Linked DNA regions of Homo sapiens: regions 1, 2 and 3 are each linked to region 4. The links are contacts of gene promoters, found by promoter capture Hi-C in human tissues and cell types (Jung and others, 2019). All regions are on one chromosome and are shown on one strand. Each heading gives the region's core, a stretch centred on a gene start or on the middle of the fragment in contact. The rest is flanking DNA. Distances are from core to core; before and after follow the strand shown.

What was found. The method cuts DNA at HindIII sites, captures the fragments that hold promoters and counts their contacts. A contact is called where the count stands out against the background at its distance.
Region 1: a fragment that was not itself captured here is called in contact with the fragment with the promoter of ALDH3A1 in region 4 in 1 of the 25 tissues and cell types used here (lymphoblastoid cells).
Region 2: a contact is called between a fragment that was not itself captured here and the fragment with the promoter of ALDH3A1 in region 4, in 5 of the 25 tissues and cell types used here (dorsolateral prefrontal cortex, lymphoblastoid cells, mesendoderm cells and 2 more).
Region 3: a fragment that was not itself captured here is called in contact with the fragment with the promoter of ALDH3A1 in region 4 in 5 of the 25 tissues and cell types used here (aorta, dorsolateral prefrontal cortex, mesenchymal stem cells and 2 more).

The regions. Positions count from the first base shown.
Region 1 is chr17:19,246,463-19,249,615 of GRCh38, reverse strand. The region is part of intron 1 of EPN2 (epsin 2); the gene reads right to left. Among named protein-coding and RNA genes, the nearest start is that of EPN2, 11 kb to the right of the region's middle. The HindIII fragment of the contact is 3,795 bases long and covers 1-3,153 here.
Region 2 is chr17:19,341,425-19,344,738 of GRCh38, reverse strand. B9D1 (B9 domain containing 1) reads left to right here. Exons shown (of 7, transcript NM_015681.6): 6 at 882-949; 7 at 1,278-1,564. The coding sequence ends at 1,420. MIR1180 (microRNA 1180) reads left to right here and starts at 165; the gene lies at 165-233. RefSeq lists an enhancer at 2,820-3,314. The HindIII fragment of the contact is 6,595 bases long and covers 1-3,314 here.
Region 3 is chr17:19,293,565-19,296,791 of GRCh38, reverse strand. The region is part of intron 4 of EPN2 (epsin 2); the gene reads right to left. It overlaps EPN2-AS1 (EPN2 antisense RNA 1), which reads left to right. Exons shown (of 3, transcript NR_048576.1): 3 at 1-196. Among named protein-coding and RNA genes, the nearest start is that of EPN2-AS1, 11 kb to the left of the region's middle. The HindIII fragment of the contact is 3,874 bases long and covers 23-3,227 here.
Region 4 is chr17:19,746,833-19,750,236 of GRCh38, reverse strand. It overlaps ALDH3A1 (aldehyde dehydrogenase 3 family member A1), which reads left to right and starts at 1,939. Exons shown (of 11, transcript NM_000691.5): 1 at 1,939-1,978. The HindIII fragment of the contact is 25,713 bases long and covers 1-3,404 here.

The DNA.
Region 1 (3,153 bases), core at 177-2,676, 500 kb after region 4:
GGCAAGGACTATTTCCTGGGTGCCCAGCACGGAGCCTAGCACACAGCAGCTCTCTGACATTCACCCCAAGTTAACGCAAGGTCCCTTACCTTTACCACATGGTCATAAAATTATCCAGGGATTTCTGGAAAATAGAGCTGCTTAACTGAAAGGAGTTCTATTCCCAAGAGACTGTTTAATCACATAGACATTACCCAGAGGCCTTGGGAAACTGGCCTGGAGTAGAGGAGGGAACATCCATCTCACTGCAAACAGAAAAAAGTGAGGGCTCTTCAGGTCCTCTGGAAGAAACCTCCAACCTCTCCCTCCCAGCCACCCTCAGGGTGCCAGCTTGCTCACTGCAGCTCCAGATAACTTCGGTTGTTCTTCAACAGCAGAGGAACACTTCTCAAGTGGGCTCTTTTTAGCTCCCCACTTTCACCAGCACAGAGATGCTCTGATTAGAGGTGGGGTGGAAGGCCCACAGTCCTGCCCACTCACCGCCAAAAGGCTACGTGAAAACCACAGCCCATGAGTCAAACCTCACCAAGCTCGCCTGTCCTGCCTGGAGAGTCTGGTCAGCAGGCAGCTGGGCCTCTGCCACATGTCCAGCTCTTCCTCCTCTGCGCCCTCCTTGCTCAGCTCAGGCCTCTGCATAATGCAGCTCCCTCGGCCAGGGATCCTCTCATCTCTGTCCCTGAGAACTCCCACTTTTCCTTCAAGACTCGACTCACATACTATTTCCTCGAAGCCTTCTCTGGTTCCCAGGTTCCATTCTAGTGTCTGACACCACTTTCTAAACTTCCCTCCCCCAGCTATCTCCCAAAGCTAATATTACTTGTTACTGAGGCAAGAGCCACCATCTGCAGACCAAAAACTATTTTGAAATGTAAGAGGAACTTAAATTTTATTCACTCAGGCGTTCCCAGCCAACAGCACATAATACATATGTGCTCAATAAGCATTAAGTAAAGAATAAATGAAGTGGACTATAAACTCATTTTTTGACTGAAATACCATATATTACAATGACACTGTGACATGCATTAACTGTACCATGTAAAATCCCACTTCTAGACTTTGACTAATAAACTGAATCTATCTAAATTAGTAACTCCACATTACAACTATCTTTAATAAAATTAAAGAAATGTAATTTAAAATTTTACATGTACCATCTGCTGCAGTCATTACAATTTAGGGTGTGGGGAGGAACTTGGCTAGCAAGCTTGAGAGAACAGATAAGAACCTGCTGTGCCTGCTCTGTGGCTAAAATGCAGGTTGAAAGGAGGCTTGCCAAATAGGTGGATCACAGTCTCTTCTGCCCATCCCTTGTTTAAACTTTCTACTAAGCTGTCCTTCTTTATTTACCAAGGTAGCTTAGAGGCGTATTTCAGCCAGGGTGATCATTTCTGCCAGTTCCTCTCCAGCCCTGATTCCACCAGCCAATCCACAGTCATTCTACAATAGCTCAGGAACCCAGTCCCCGCACCACATTACTTCAAAGGCTTCTTCTGGCTTCAATTTTCCCCTTCCAATCCCTGACACTCCCAGAGGCTCCTCCAAGCACACAGCTCAGCTTCTCAACCCACACAGACTATGAGAATTAACTGGGGGCACTTCTAAAAATTACTGGCTCCCCCTTGATTGGTCTGGGGTAGGGCCCCATCATGGGCATTTTTCTAGCTTTCCAGGCCACATGATTTGCAGGCTCCCAGGGAGTCAAATCCAAACTTCCCAGCCAGCACTGAGGCCCCCTTTACTCCCTAAACACAACTCAACTCTGGCTTCTCTTCATTCTCCATCTCTAGAACTGCTATCTAGCCAGTCTCAGGAAGCCAGTCTGGGCCAGGCCCCCACCCACAGAGATTACTCCGCAGGGCCCCCTTCTCAAACACTTGAGGTGGCACCCACTCAAGACCTACCCTGCTCCCTACTACCCAGAAAACCAAACCCCAAGGCTGCTGTCTCATCAGAGCCAGTGGCCATCTGGCCACCTGGGAGCTCACTGCTCCCAGCAGGCATCCACCCGTCACCAGCTGCAGGAGCCAGCACACACTCAAGCACCTACCCCATCCCATCTCAAGCTTTAACTCCTGCTGTTCCTGAGATCCGAAATACCTTCCCATCTGCCTTCCACTTAGGGATACTGTTTCTTGTTCTTCAAGGTCCAGCTCAAATCCTACCTTCTCCTGATAGCTTCCCTGACTTCTAAATTTTTTCTCCATTCTTGACCCCCTGACAAAGAATCAAAATCATGGCTCAACAAACTGCTAGCTTCTGTCTCACAAATAGTAACTTTGTCTTCTCAATTAGATTAAGTTCTTGGTGGCATTTCATTTATAACCATTATTTGCCTCTAGATCACGTGTTCCATATTTTTCAGGTTGACACTGGCCTCAGTCATGAAACTGTCCTTGAAATGCCCATACTTCTACATCTCCCAGCTGCTTCTCATAAAGTGACATACAAATTCTTTCTCCAATCAGATGTTTCCCAAATTTTGTCATCCATAGTATAGTCATTATATCCCAGGACAGCTCTGAGTATCAAAAAGGCACACAGGGGGCTGGGCGCAGTGGCTCACGCCTGTAATCCCAGTACTTTGGGAAGCTGAGGTGGGCAGATCACGAGGTCAGGAGATCAAGACCATCCTGGCTAACACGGTGAAACCCCCTCTCTACCATAAATACAAAAAGAAATCAGCCAGGCGTGGTGGCGGGCGCCTGTAGTCCCAGCTACTTGGGAGGCTGAGACAGGAGAATGGCGTGAACCCGGGGGCGGAGCCTGCAGTGAGCTGAGATCGCGCCACTGCACTCCAGCCTGGGTGACAGAGCGAGACTCCGCTTCAAAAAAAAAAAAAAAAAAAGGCACACAGGGAGGACTTGCTTTCAGGGGGGAAAAAAAAAACAAAACAAAACAACTGCGTCCCTTTATTGCTAGGATATTTTTTTGGGGGGGGCGGAAGGGGCCTTTTAATACAACTTTTTGCTCACATTGATTTATTCACCTCAGAGTCTTAAAGAGTTCACAAAACAAACTCAAGTCCAAGCCTCCAGGGCCTCCCACAAGTGCAGGGCAAGCACCAACACATAGCTGTTTACCATTCCTTGGTTGGGGAGCTGCAAAGAGTGCTCAAACCTTGGGAAAATGCTCACACCCCAGCCTCCCCAG
Region 2 (3,314 bases), core at 815-3,314, 410 kb after region 4:
GTGCCCACCTCAGAGACGGAGAGGCCGCGGGGAGGGCGGTGCGTGGGCTTTTGGGTCGGCATGGTTGCCAGCGACCCTCGGGGCCGGGTGTGTCCGTGGGGGGACCTTGGGAGCTGTGGTACAGAGGAGGCGCGGCCGCGAGTCCCGGCGGGGCGAAGCCCGCGGCTGCTGGACCCACCCGGCCGGGAATAGTGCTCCTGGTTGTTTCCGGCTCGCGTGGGTGTGTCGGCGGCGGGGCCTGACACCCCCGGCCTCCTGGCCTCCCGCCTGGCCCAACTGGGGTCTGGGGCTGGGGAGGGCGCATGCTCAGCCTGGTGGCTGTGTGCCGCCCCTGGCAGGGCCTGCGGTGGGTGCCAAGATGGGAAGTGACATGTCCTGGACCCCACACTAGTGGGAGGTAAGGCTGAGGAGCCGTTCTGGCCCTTCTGCCCACCCCACAGACTCTCTGGGGTGGGACCCCCTTCCAGGGAGGCTGGAGGGTCACACTGTCCCCTCCCCTCCCCCACCTCAGCTGCTGTCACTTTTCTGGGATTTCTGGGGGTTCAGGTAGCACCCCCACCCCAGAATCTTCCTGAGCTCTCATTCCCAGTGAACCAAACCCATGGAAGCCAGAGATGGAAAAGCCTAACCGGCCAGCGGAGGCAGCGTGGCTGCAGAGCACATGAGGCCTGGCTAGGCTGTGTGACCTCGGCAAGGGACACCCCACGCTGGAGCCCAGCCACTGGGAAGGCTCTGCTTAGGGCCTGACTCCTGGTGGGGGTGGGGTGCGGTTGGAACAAGAGTGCTGGTTTCTGAACCGAGGAGAGCCCACATCCAGTGTCGTCCAAGACCAGGAATGCCCAGGTGGGGCCCTGCTCACCTGTGTTCTTCTGTGTTCCCAGCTGGTTCATGGGGCGGCGGCCCGAGTACACAGACCCCAAGGTGGTGGCTCAGGGTGAAGGCCGGGAAGGTAAAGCTCCCTCCCCTCTCTTACCCCCATCCCCCATACAGGTTACAGCCTGGGAGTGGGTGGGCCCAGGGTTGGGGTGAATGCCGGGGACCTGCCAGGCACATAGGAGCTAGCCCACAAATGTTCCCAGATGAGGGCCTGGTTGGAGCACAGAGGGTTTGTCATGTCTGCCTGTCCCGGCAGCCCCTTTACCTCCCAGTGAGGGGCTTGGGTCAGGCACTGTTGTCCCCATTTTACAGATGAGAACGCTGAGGCTGAGATTCCCAGATCAACCTGGGTCTCTCTCTGCCCCAGCCCAGCCTGGCTGATGCTGCCCTTCTGTCCCCAGTGACCCGTGTCCGTTCTCAGGGCTTTGTCACCCTCCTCTTCAACGTGGTGACCAAGGACATGAGGAAACTGGGCTATGACACTGGGCCTTCTGATACACAGGGTGTGTTGGGGCCCAGCCCACCCCAGAGCTTCCCCCAGTGAAGGCTCCACAGGCTGCACAGTCTCTGATAATGAAGGGCTGCCTTCCCGAAGTCAGCCGCTGCCCATCGGCCTGAGGGGCAGCCTGGTGGCCAGAGCTGGGGGCACACAGAATAGTTTTGTATAATAAAGTCTCATTTTCAGAGAGCCTAGGCCTGGGGCTGCCTTCTCTCCTGTTTAGCCCCTCCCCCACAGGAGCTGGGGGCTCTTGGGCCTTTCCTGGCCCCACCTCCAGGGCTCTCCCTGTCCCTACCCCTTGTGCCGTGGAAGCTGCCAGGAGACCAGACCGTGCAGCAGGATGGCATGTGGGATGGGAGCTTTGACATAACCAGGTTCTGCCACTCAAAGCTGTGTGGCCTTTTCTATACCGCAACACATTGTTCCTTGAACTAACTGGGCATGGCACCCTCCTTAGAGGCTTGGGGTTAAGTAGAATCACCCGTTCAGCCATGCTTCTGGCCACCAGCCTCCCTTGGCAAGGACAGAACCCTGTTATTGGGAGCTGGAATGGTGAGGTACCCCGGGGGATGGCAGACCCTCAGCCTGCCCACTCCCCTCTCTGCCCCCCTACCCACAGTCCAAGGATGGGGGCTGGAAACCTCTCAGAGGTGGGAGGCCGCTGGCTGGGGTCCAGCTTTCTGGCAGCCCCTTGGCAGGAGAGGAAGGTGAGCCCCCTGGCTCAACACCCTGACCTCTGAGGTTGTCCAGGCCCTTCTGGAAGCAGAGCCCCTTCAGCATTACTTTGGGAGGCCCTGACCCTGGGCCTCCCCACCTTCACAAGAACCCCTCGCACCTCACGAGGCAGCCCCAGGCCCTCTCTGCCCTGCCACTGAGCTTTCGGCAGACATGGTGCCCCAGCCTAGATACTGCCCTCAGCGGGATCCAAGAGAAACCACAGGCTCCTGGCAAACCCCCACCTCCCAGCCTCGCCCATGTTGCCCTGGACTGTCGTCATGGCACTTGCCCTGAGACCATCTGGGCCGACCCTCTTCTGCCTTTTATCTCACGAGCACTCCCGTGCCCTCCCCCCAACTCACTGTGCGTTCTGAAACTCATCGTCTGTTGTCAGCAAAATTCCTGTGATTCCATCTTCTCGGAATAGGAAGTTCCCTCTGCCTTCTGGCCTTACTGAAGCCCACTCAGTACCCTGCAGCCCTCTTAAGTGGAATCTTTTTCCTCCCACTCCCCATGTGCGGTGAGCCTAGAGCAGGGGTGTGTCCTTGCCTCTTCCTCAACCTCCTCACTTGGAACAGTCTGTCTTCACCTCTACCCCTCACAGCCAGGCAGGCATATCTCTTGTTACTGGTGAAGGCACTGCCTCCAAAGTCTGGATTGAGGCATCCCTCCCTCAGGCCAGGCCCTCCCTCATGTGGCGCTTCCCTGTGCTCTTCAAACCACCAGGCCCTCCAAGCTCCTGGCCCAGCCCCTTTTCGCCAACCATCAGCCCCTCTTTCCTTGCTTTCCTCCCAGCCCAGTTTAGAACTCTTGGTCATCTGCATGCACTTCCCATAGTGCCCTCCATCCTTCGTTTATGCTCACCTGGCAAGGTCTCCACCCTGGTGACAGCCAGCTGTTCCTTCGCCTGCCCTGCACCTGCCTGAGCCCCCAGAGCCACAACGGCTCGCGTTCCATCCATGGCCCAGGTCTGTGTTTCCCTAGACAACTCCCTCATGCATTCTCTGAGGAAACTTAACAGCCTTTGTCTCTTCAGGCCTCCAGCACCCTCCCTGCCAGCTTAGCTAAGGCGCTCCCTTCTGTTCCCACAACCACCCCACATTAGCTGCCTTCCTTACCCTACCTGAGGACATGCCTCAGGTGTGTGGGAGATACAGTGCTCTCAAGGGTCTTTCTTCTCCCCTTCTCCCTCCATCGTGAGTTTTCCTACACGGGCTCCTTC
Region 3 (3,227 bases), core at 710-3,209, 450 kb after region 4:
ACTAAAAATTAAAAATTCGGCTGCGTGTGGTGGTGTGCGCCTGTACTTCCAGCTACTAGGCAAGGCTGAGGTAGAAGGATCGTTTGAACCTAGGAGTTCGAGGCTGCATGGGCCATGATTGTGCCACAATGCTCCAGCCTGGGCAACAGCAAGACACTGTCTCAAAACAAATAAATAAAAATAAAAATAAATACACCAACATGTGAATAACAGTTGTCTTTGCATATTATAGTTAAGATTGAAGGATTTTTTTCTTCTTTTTCTATTTCTATTTTTTTTGCATTTTCCCAATTATCATGAATGGACATACATTATTACATTTGTACCAAAAATCTAGCAGGAGCCAGGCGCAGTGGCTCACGTCTGTAATCCCAGCACTTTGGGAGGCAGAGGTGGGTGGATCACCTGAGGTCAGGAGTTCAAGACCAGCCTGGTCAACATGATGAAACCCCATCTCTACTAAAAATACAAAAATTAGCTGGGCGTGGTGGCACGCACCTGTAGTCCCAGCTACTCGGGAGGCTGAGACATGAGAATTGCTTGAACCTGGGAGGCAGAGGTTGTAGTGAGCCGAGATCACGCCACTGCACTCCAGCCTGGGTGACGGGGTGAGACTCTGTCCCAGTTTAAAAAAAAAAAAATAGAATGAATGACTTCATGCCCTCACTGTACTTGGAGAAGCAGGTCGCAGAGTGGACTTGCGGGAGGAGCTCTGGTTATCCCACTGCAAGCTGGACTAAGCTGGACTAAGCTTTCCATTAGCAGTCAGCAGGAGGAGACTAATTTGATGTGTAATATCAATTTCCAAGCTGCTCCAAGTTGGAGTGTTGCCTAGCTGCCTGTAACTCTGTAAAAAGACACTGCTACGGGCCATGAGTTGAGGGGAGAGGGGAGGAAGAGCCCTTCAACTGATTAAAGCCTGACAGGGAACCAGCAGCCCCCAGCACACTGCTGTCAGTGCCACCGCGGCACCTGGGGCCCTCCCAGAGATTCTAATTTGAGAGGTGTGGGAGAGGTGTGGCCCAGGATTTGGGACATTTTGGGAGATTTAAAAGCTTGAGAGCTAGTGATTTAGGGAAAAAAGGCAACTGTCAAAATGAGGAACTGCCTTGTATCACTAAACAAAAACAACAACTATGAATCATACTGTTGCTAAACTCAACCTTAAAGCATCGAGAAACCACACAAATATATAAGGCATTCCTATATTTCTGGAATTGACTTCAAATGTATTTTTTCTTTTCTTTTCTTTTTTTTCTGAGAGGGAGTTTCACTCTTGTCACCCAGGCTGGAGTCTAATGGCACGATCTCGGCTCACTGCAACCTCCACTTCCTGGGTTAAAGTGATTCTCCTGCCTCAGCCTCCCAGGTAGCTGGGACTACAGGCATGCACCACTACACCTGGCTATTTTGCGCGCACGCGCGTGTGTGTGTGTGTGTGTGTGTGTGTATTTTTAATAGAGATGGGGTTTCACTGCGTTGGCAAGGCTAGTCTCGAACTCCTGCCCTCAGGTGAGGAGAGAGGAGAAGAGAGGCTTATTTAGCACTCATGCATGAAGTATGTTCTGAGCACCTTTCCTGGTTCAGGTGTTGTGCTAAAGACACTAGGGATACAGCACGGGGCATGAACGGGGCTCCTGCTCTAACAGCTTGTTTTAGTGCAGGGAGACAAAACAAAGCAAATAAGAGAATTTCAGGTAGTGAAAAAGACTCTGAAGATAGTAAAAAAGGATATGATACAGAGAGAGATTTAACTTATATGGCCTACTTCCCATGGGAAGACAAATCTATCTGCATGCCTTCCCTCCTGTTTCTAGTCATATAATTTTTTTTTAATGCCTCCTGGAAGTTGTCTATTTGAAACTAGCAACTGCTGTACTGAGCATCCATGAATAAAGACACCGTCAGCAGCTGTGACTATGCTAGCCAATCTGACTTAAAACATCTGACAGGGAACCAGCAGCCCCCAGTACAATGCTGTCAGTGCCACCGCAGTACCTGGGGCCCTCCCAGAGATTCTCATTTGAGAAGTGTGGCAAAGGTGTGGCCCAGGATTTGGGACATTTTGGGAGATTTAAAAGCTTGAGAGCTAGTGATTTAGGGAAAAAAGAAAAGGCAACTGTCAAAATGAGGAACTGCCTTGTATCACTAAACAAAAACTAACAACTATGTATCATACTGTTGCTAAACTCAACCTTAAAGCATCGAGAAACCTTCTACACTTATTGACAGTTTATAAACAATAGTTTGTTTACCTATACTACAAAGGATCCTTAAAAAACAGGTAAATATTGTATTGATCCATTTTCTATGGCACACGCCAATGTCAATCATTTAATCAATAACCCAATCCCCAATATTTTTTTTCTTTTGAGAAAGGGTCTCGCTTTGTCACCCAGGCTAGAATGCAGTGGCACAATCTTGGTTCACTGCAGCCTGGACTTCCTGAGCTCAGGCGATTCCTCCCACCTCAGCCCCACAAAGTAGCTGGGACTACAGGTGCACACCACCATGCCTGGTTAATTTTTTTTTTTTTTGTAGCGATGGGGTTTTGTTGTGTTGTCCAGGCTGGTCTCAAACTCCTAAGCTCAAGCAATTCACCTGCTTCAGCCTCTCGAAGTGCTAGGATTACAGGCATGGGCCACTGCAGCCGGCCTCCCAATCAGCAATTTTGATAGCACTGTTTCTTTTTTTTTTTTTTAAAGACAGAGTCTTGCTCTGTTGCCCAGGCTGGAGTACAGTGGTGCGATCTCAGCTCACTGCAACCTCTGCCTCCCAAGCTTCAAGCAATCTCCTGCCTCAGCTTCCTGGGTAGCTGGGATTACAAGCATCCACCACCACACCCGACTAATTTTTTGTATTTTTGGTAGAGACAGGGGTTTCACCATGTTGGTCAGGCTGGTCTCAAACTCCTGACCTCAAGTGATCCACCAGCCTCGGCCTCCCAAAGTGCTGGGATTATAGGCATGAGCCACCGCGCCCAGCCTTGATAGCACTGTTTCAATTCTGAGAACAATCCCATATTCTGACAATCAGAGGAGCTCCTTAAGATCTGGGGCCCAATTAAATAATGGTTTAATTAGGTATTCCTGGCTGAGTGTGGTGGCTTGTGCCTGCATGCCTGTAATCTCAACACTTTGAGAGGCCGAGGCCAGAGGATAGCTTGAGCCCAGGAGTTCCAGATCAGCCTGGGCAACGTGGCAAAACCCCACCTCTACAAAATACAG
Region 4 (3,404 bases), core at 690-3,189:
TTCCATGGTTCTCCCAGGGGAGGGCCGCTGCCACAAGAAGTCAGCTCCGAATGGCCTTCGGCCTTGCATTCTGCCCTCTACTCAAGATCCAAATTCCCAGGAGAGTCAGGGAGGCCTCATGGGGAGCCCACCCCAACCCATGGCTGGCCTGGAGAAGGCACCTGGTTGATCATCTCACCAAGTAGGAAGGGGTTGCCTGCAAAGATAATCAGCTGCTGCCACCAGAAAAGGGGAGAGGCTGGCACAGGCTCGGTCTTCTCCCCTCTCAGGAGGCACCCCACTTTGCACCTACCACCCAGTCCAGCCCCTGCACAGGTGCGAGGTCCTGCAGATGCTTCTTTCTGCTGTTTCTGGAATGTTTCCCATTCTGTTAGTCTTATTTGGGGGTCTCGTCATTTCTTGCCTGCATTGCTGGAAGCTGCAGCCTTTGGGCTAGACCTTTCTCACACTGTGCCCTGTCCAGGGGGTTCTCTAAAACAAAAAATAGCAGACATTTGTCTGTCTGATAATCTCCTCAGCGCCCTGCACCCCCACAGCCAGCCTGGCCCACAGGCCTCCGTGAGCCCCCGCCCCAGGAGAGTCATTCACCTCCACACCTCCTGCTGGCAACAGTGGACACATCGCACTTTTTCGTGACATAACGTTCCCAGCCTCTGTGCCTTTGCTTCTGCTCTTCCAGCCCCCTTGCTGTTCCTTGCCCAAATGCTTCTCACTCAGCTCAGATGATGTTCCCTCCCACGGACTCTCACCCCAGCCCCTCTAGCATCCTCTGCCTACCTGGTTACTACAGTGTTCACATTATTTTGAAATTTCCTGTTTATTTTGTCAGTCAATAAATATTTATTGAGCATCTACTATAAATGCTGTATGGAGGTTACAGCAGTGAACAAATCAAATTCTAGCTGTCAGGAGTTAAGGGACAGGTAGCAAACAAGATATAAACGCTCCAGAGAAAAAATAATGGAGGAAGACGACAGCATTGTGCTATTTTCCACAGCACATTGGAGCGTAGCCGTGTGGGTGGATGTAGGGGAAGGGGGCTCCAGGTGGAGAGAAGCAGGAGGGCCAGAGCACATCCTCAGGACTCGTAGGCCAGGACCGGAACCTTGTGTTTTCCTCGAATGAAATGGGAAGCAGGGACCCCATGCTGGTAAGCAGTCTGCCTGCAGGCGGGTGAGGGTGGCGGGAAGCGCCTGGTGAGAGGGGCCGAGAGTCTGTTCCACACCTGCCTCCTCCCCACAGCGTGGTGCAGAGCAGGAGCCCAGCGAACATTGATCAGACAGCGTGGGAACGGCTTTTCCAGACTCCTTCCTTCCCAAGCATCTCTGGTTTTCGGTGACCACACAGACCCTTGGCCCTCTTCTCAGCTATTCAACGAGAGAGCAGATTTATGGATTGGAGACCCCCATCAAAAGTCCCCAGCCTGTGGCTCCCCAGGGTTAGGATCTCTGACTCAATGGGGCCCTGTGCACACTGGGGGATGTGAAGGGCCCGGGGCAGCGGTGGCTGGGGGTGCGTTTCGGGGGAGCTGCATGCTCTCACTGTGGTTCGTGGCTGAGCCCTGCCGATCTTATGTAACCAGAGAACTCAGAGAACCGCATCTGGCAGCGGCAAGTCTGGAAAGCTGGAAGAGCTCCATGCCAGGCTGAATCAATCAGCAGCCCCCACGCCCAGGGCAAACATAGGCTCTTTTGAAGATTGGAGATGTGCCCTGCCCAAGCCTTCAGAAACATTCTCGCATTTCAGAAGTGAACAAAAGCAAACAGCCCGGGACCTAATCCCCAAAACCTGGGCTGTAGGGAGCAGAGGTCCAGAGGACGCCACACCCCACATTTGAATATTTTTTTTTCTTGTCACGCAAACTTCCTGGGCAGGAACTCCAAGGGCTCAATGGACGGGAAGCAGGGTCCTTAAATACGTCCCCTCTTGGCTCTTGCCGTTCCAGGAGCCCCAGTTACCGGGAGAGGCTGTGTCAAAGGTAATCCTCTTCCCTGCATTCCTTATTTTTTCTCTTGTCTAGGTGGAGTCTGCACTCAGAGCCGGGGCCCTAAGTGTCAAGAGTCCTACATCATCTCTCCAGGGGGTCCCTGCCTCTGGGACCATCATCTCTGGAGCATCCTCCTGGACCTCTGGCAGCTCTGCCATCCCCCAAACCAGGAGGCAGAGGTCCCAGGGATCCGCGGAGCAGGGACACCAAGGTGGCCGTGGAGTGAGAGGCCCTGATGGGCCGTCAGACTCCATGACTGGAAGGAAGGCAGCAGAGCCGAGTGCTAAAGGCATGAGCTGCTGACAGAGATGCATGTGGGTTCAAACCCTGACATGCCACCTGCTAACTGTGAGATCAGATACAGCATTAAACGTTTCTCAGTCTCCCTTTCCTCATCTGTAAAATGCACTCATAACCGTTTCTTCTTCATGGGCATCACTACAGAGCTTTTGTGAGGATGGAAGGCAATGAGGAGGGGAGGAGGTGTCACTGGGGGGCAAAGTCAACACTGGCACAGGTGAGAGGAGCGGGGTGCAGGAATGTGGGGTGTGAGGCGACGGGCTCTGGGGAGGCCCCCAGTGCATGCTGCAGCAGCTCCCATTTGGGTGCAGCTGCGACGTGATGGTGTCCACTCATCTCTGTGAAGTGGCACCTTTGTTAACCTGTCTCTCGGGGAAGTCCTGGGAAGGCCGTCCAGCCCAGAGACCACAGTTCCAAGTGGCGATGCTGGGGTGCAAGGCCAATCCCGTCCCACGCTCACCAGGCTCTTCCCACCTGGGCTGCCTGCCTTGGTTTGACCGTACAAGGCTCGGGAGAGAAGCGGGACCTTCTCTCCTGGGTTGTGGTCAGCAGGAGGGGCCTGGCCCATGGGACTGAGGAGGTCCCAGTGAGGGGGCTTTCCCAGCCTCCTATCAGAACATAGGGAGGGACCATGGAAGGGCCAGGCTTAGAGCACCCTCAATGCCAGCAGGTCCCTCCTCCCTGTGCAGAAAGCCTGGGATTAGGGGTCAGCCTATGGGGAGGGGAGGCAGAGGAAGGATTGGAAGCCACTCGCTGGAATGTAGGCAGGACCATATATCTATATACAATATAATTATATATTACATATGATATATAGGGTTTTTTAAAAAAATGGAAATACCCTATTTCTGCTGATGTTAAAAGTTATGCCGGGTCTGCAAGTGGGCTGAGTATCTCAGGAAGGGGAGTAAGGAACTGGTAACAGTGGCCCCTCTGTGGGGCAGCACCTGACAGCTGATGGAGCAGGGAGGAGGGAGGCAGACTTTTTTCTGTGCCCCTTTGCTATATTTTACATTTTGTTTCATGAGCATGTAGTGCCTATCTTAAAACGCACCAAAATTTAAAAAATACAAGCTCATTGCAAAAAGTCAAACATTGCATAAGAGGAAAACAGATC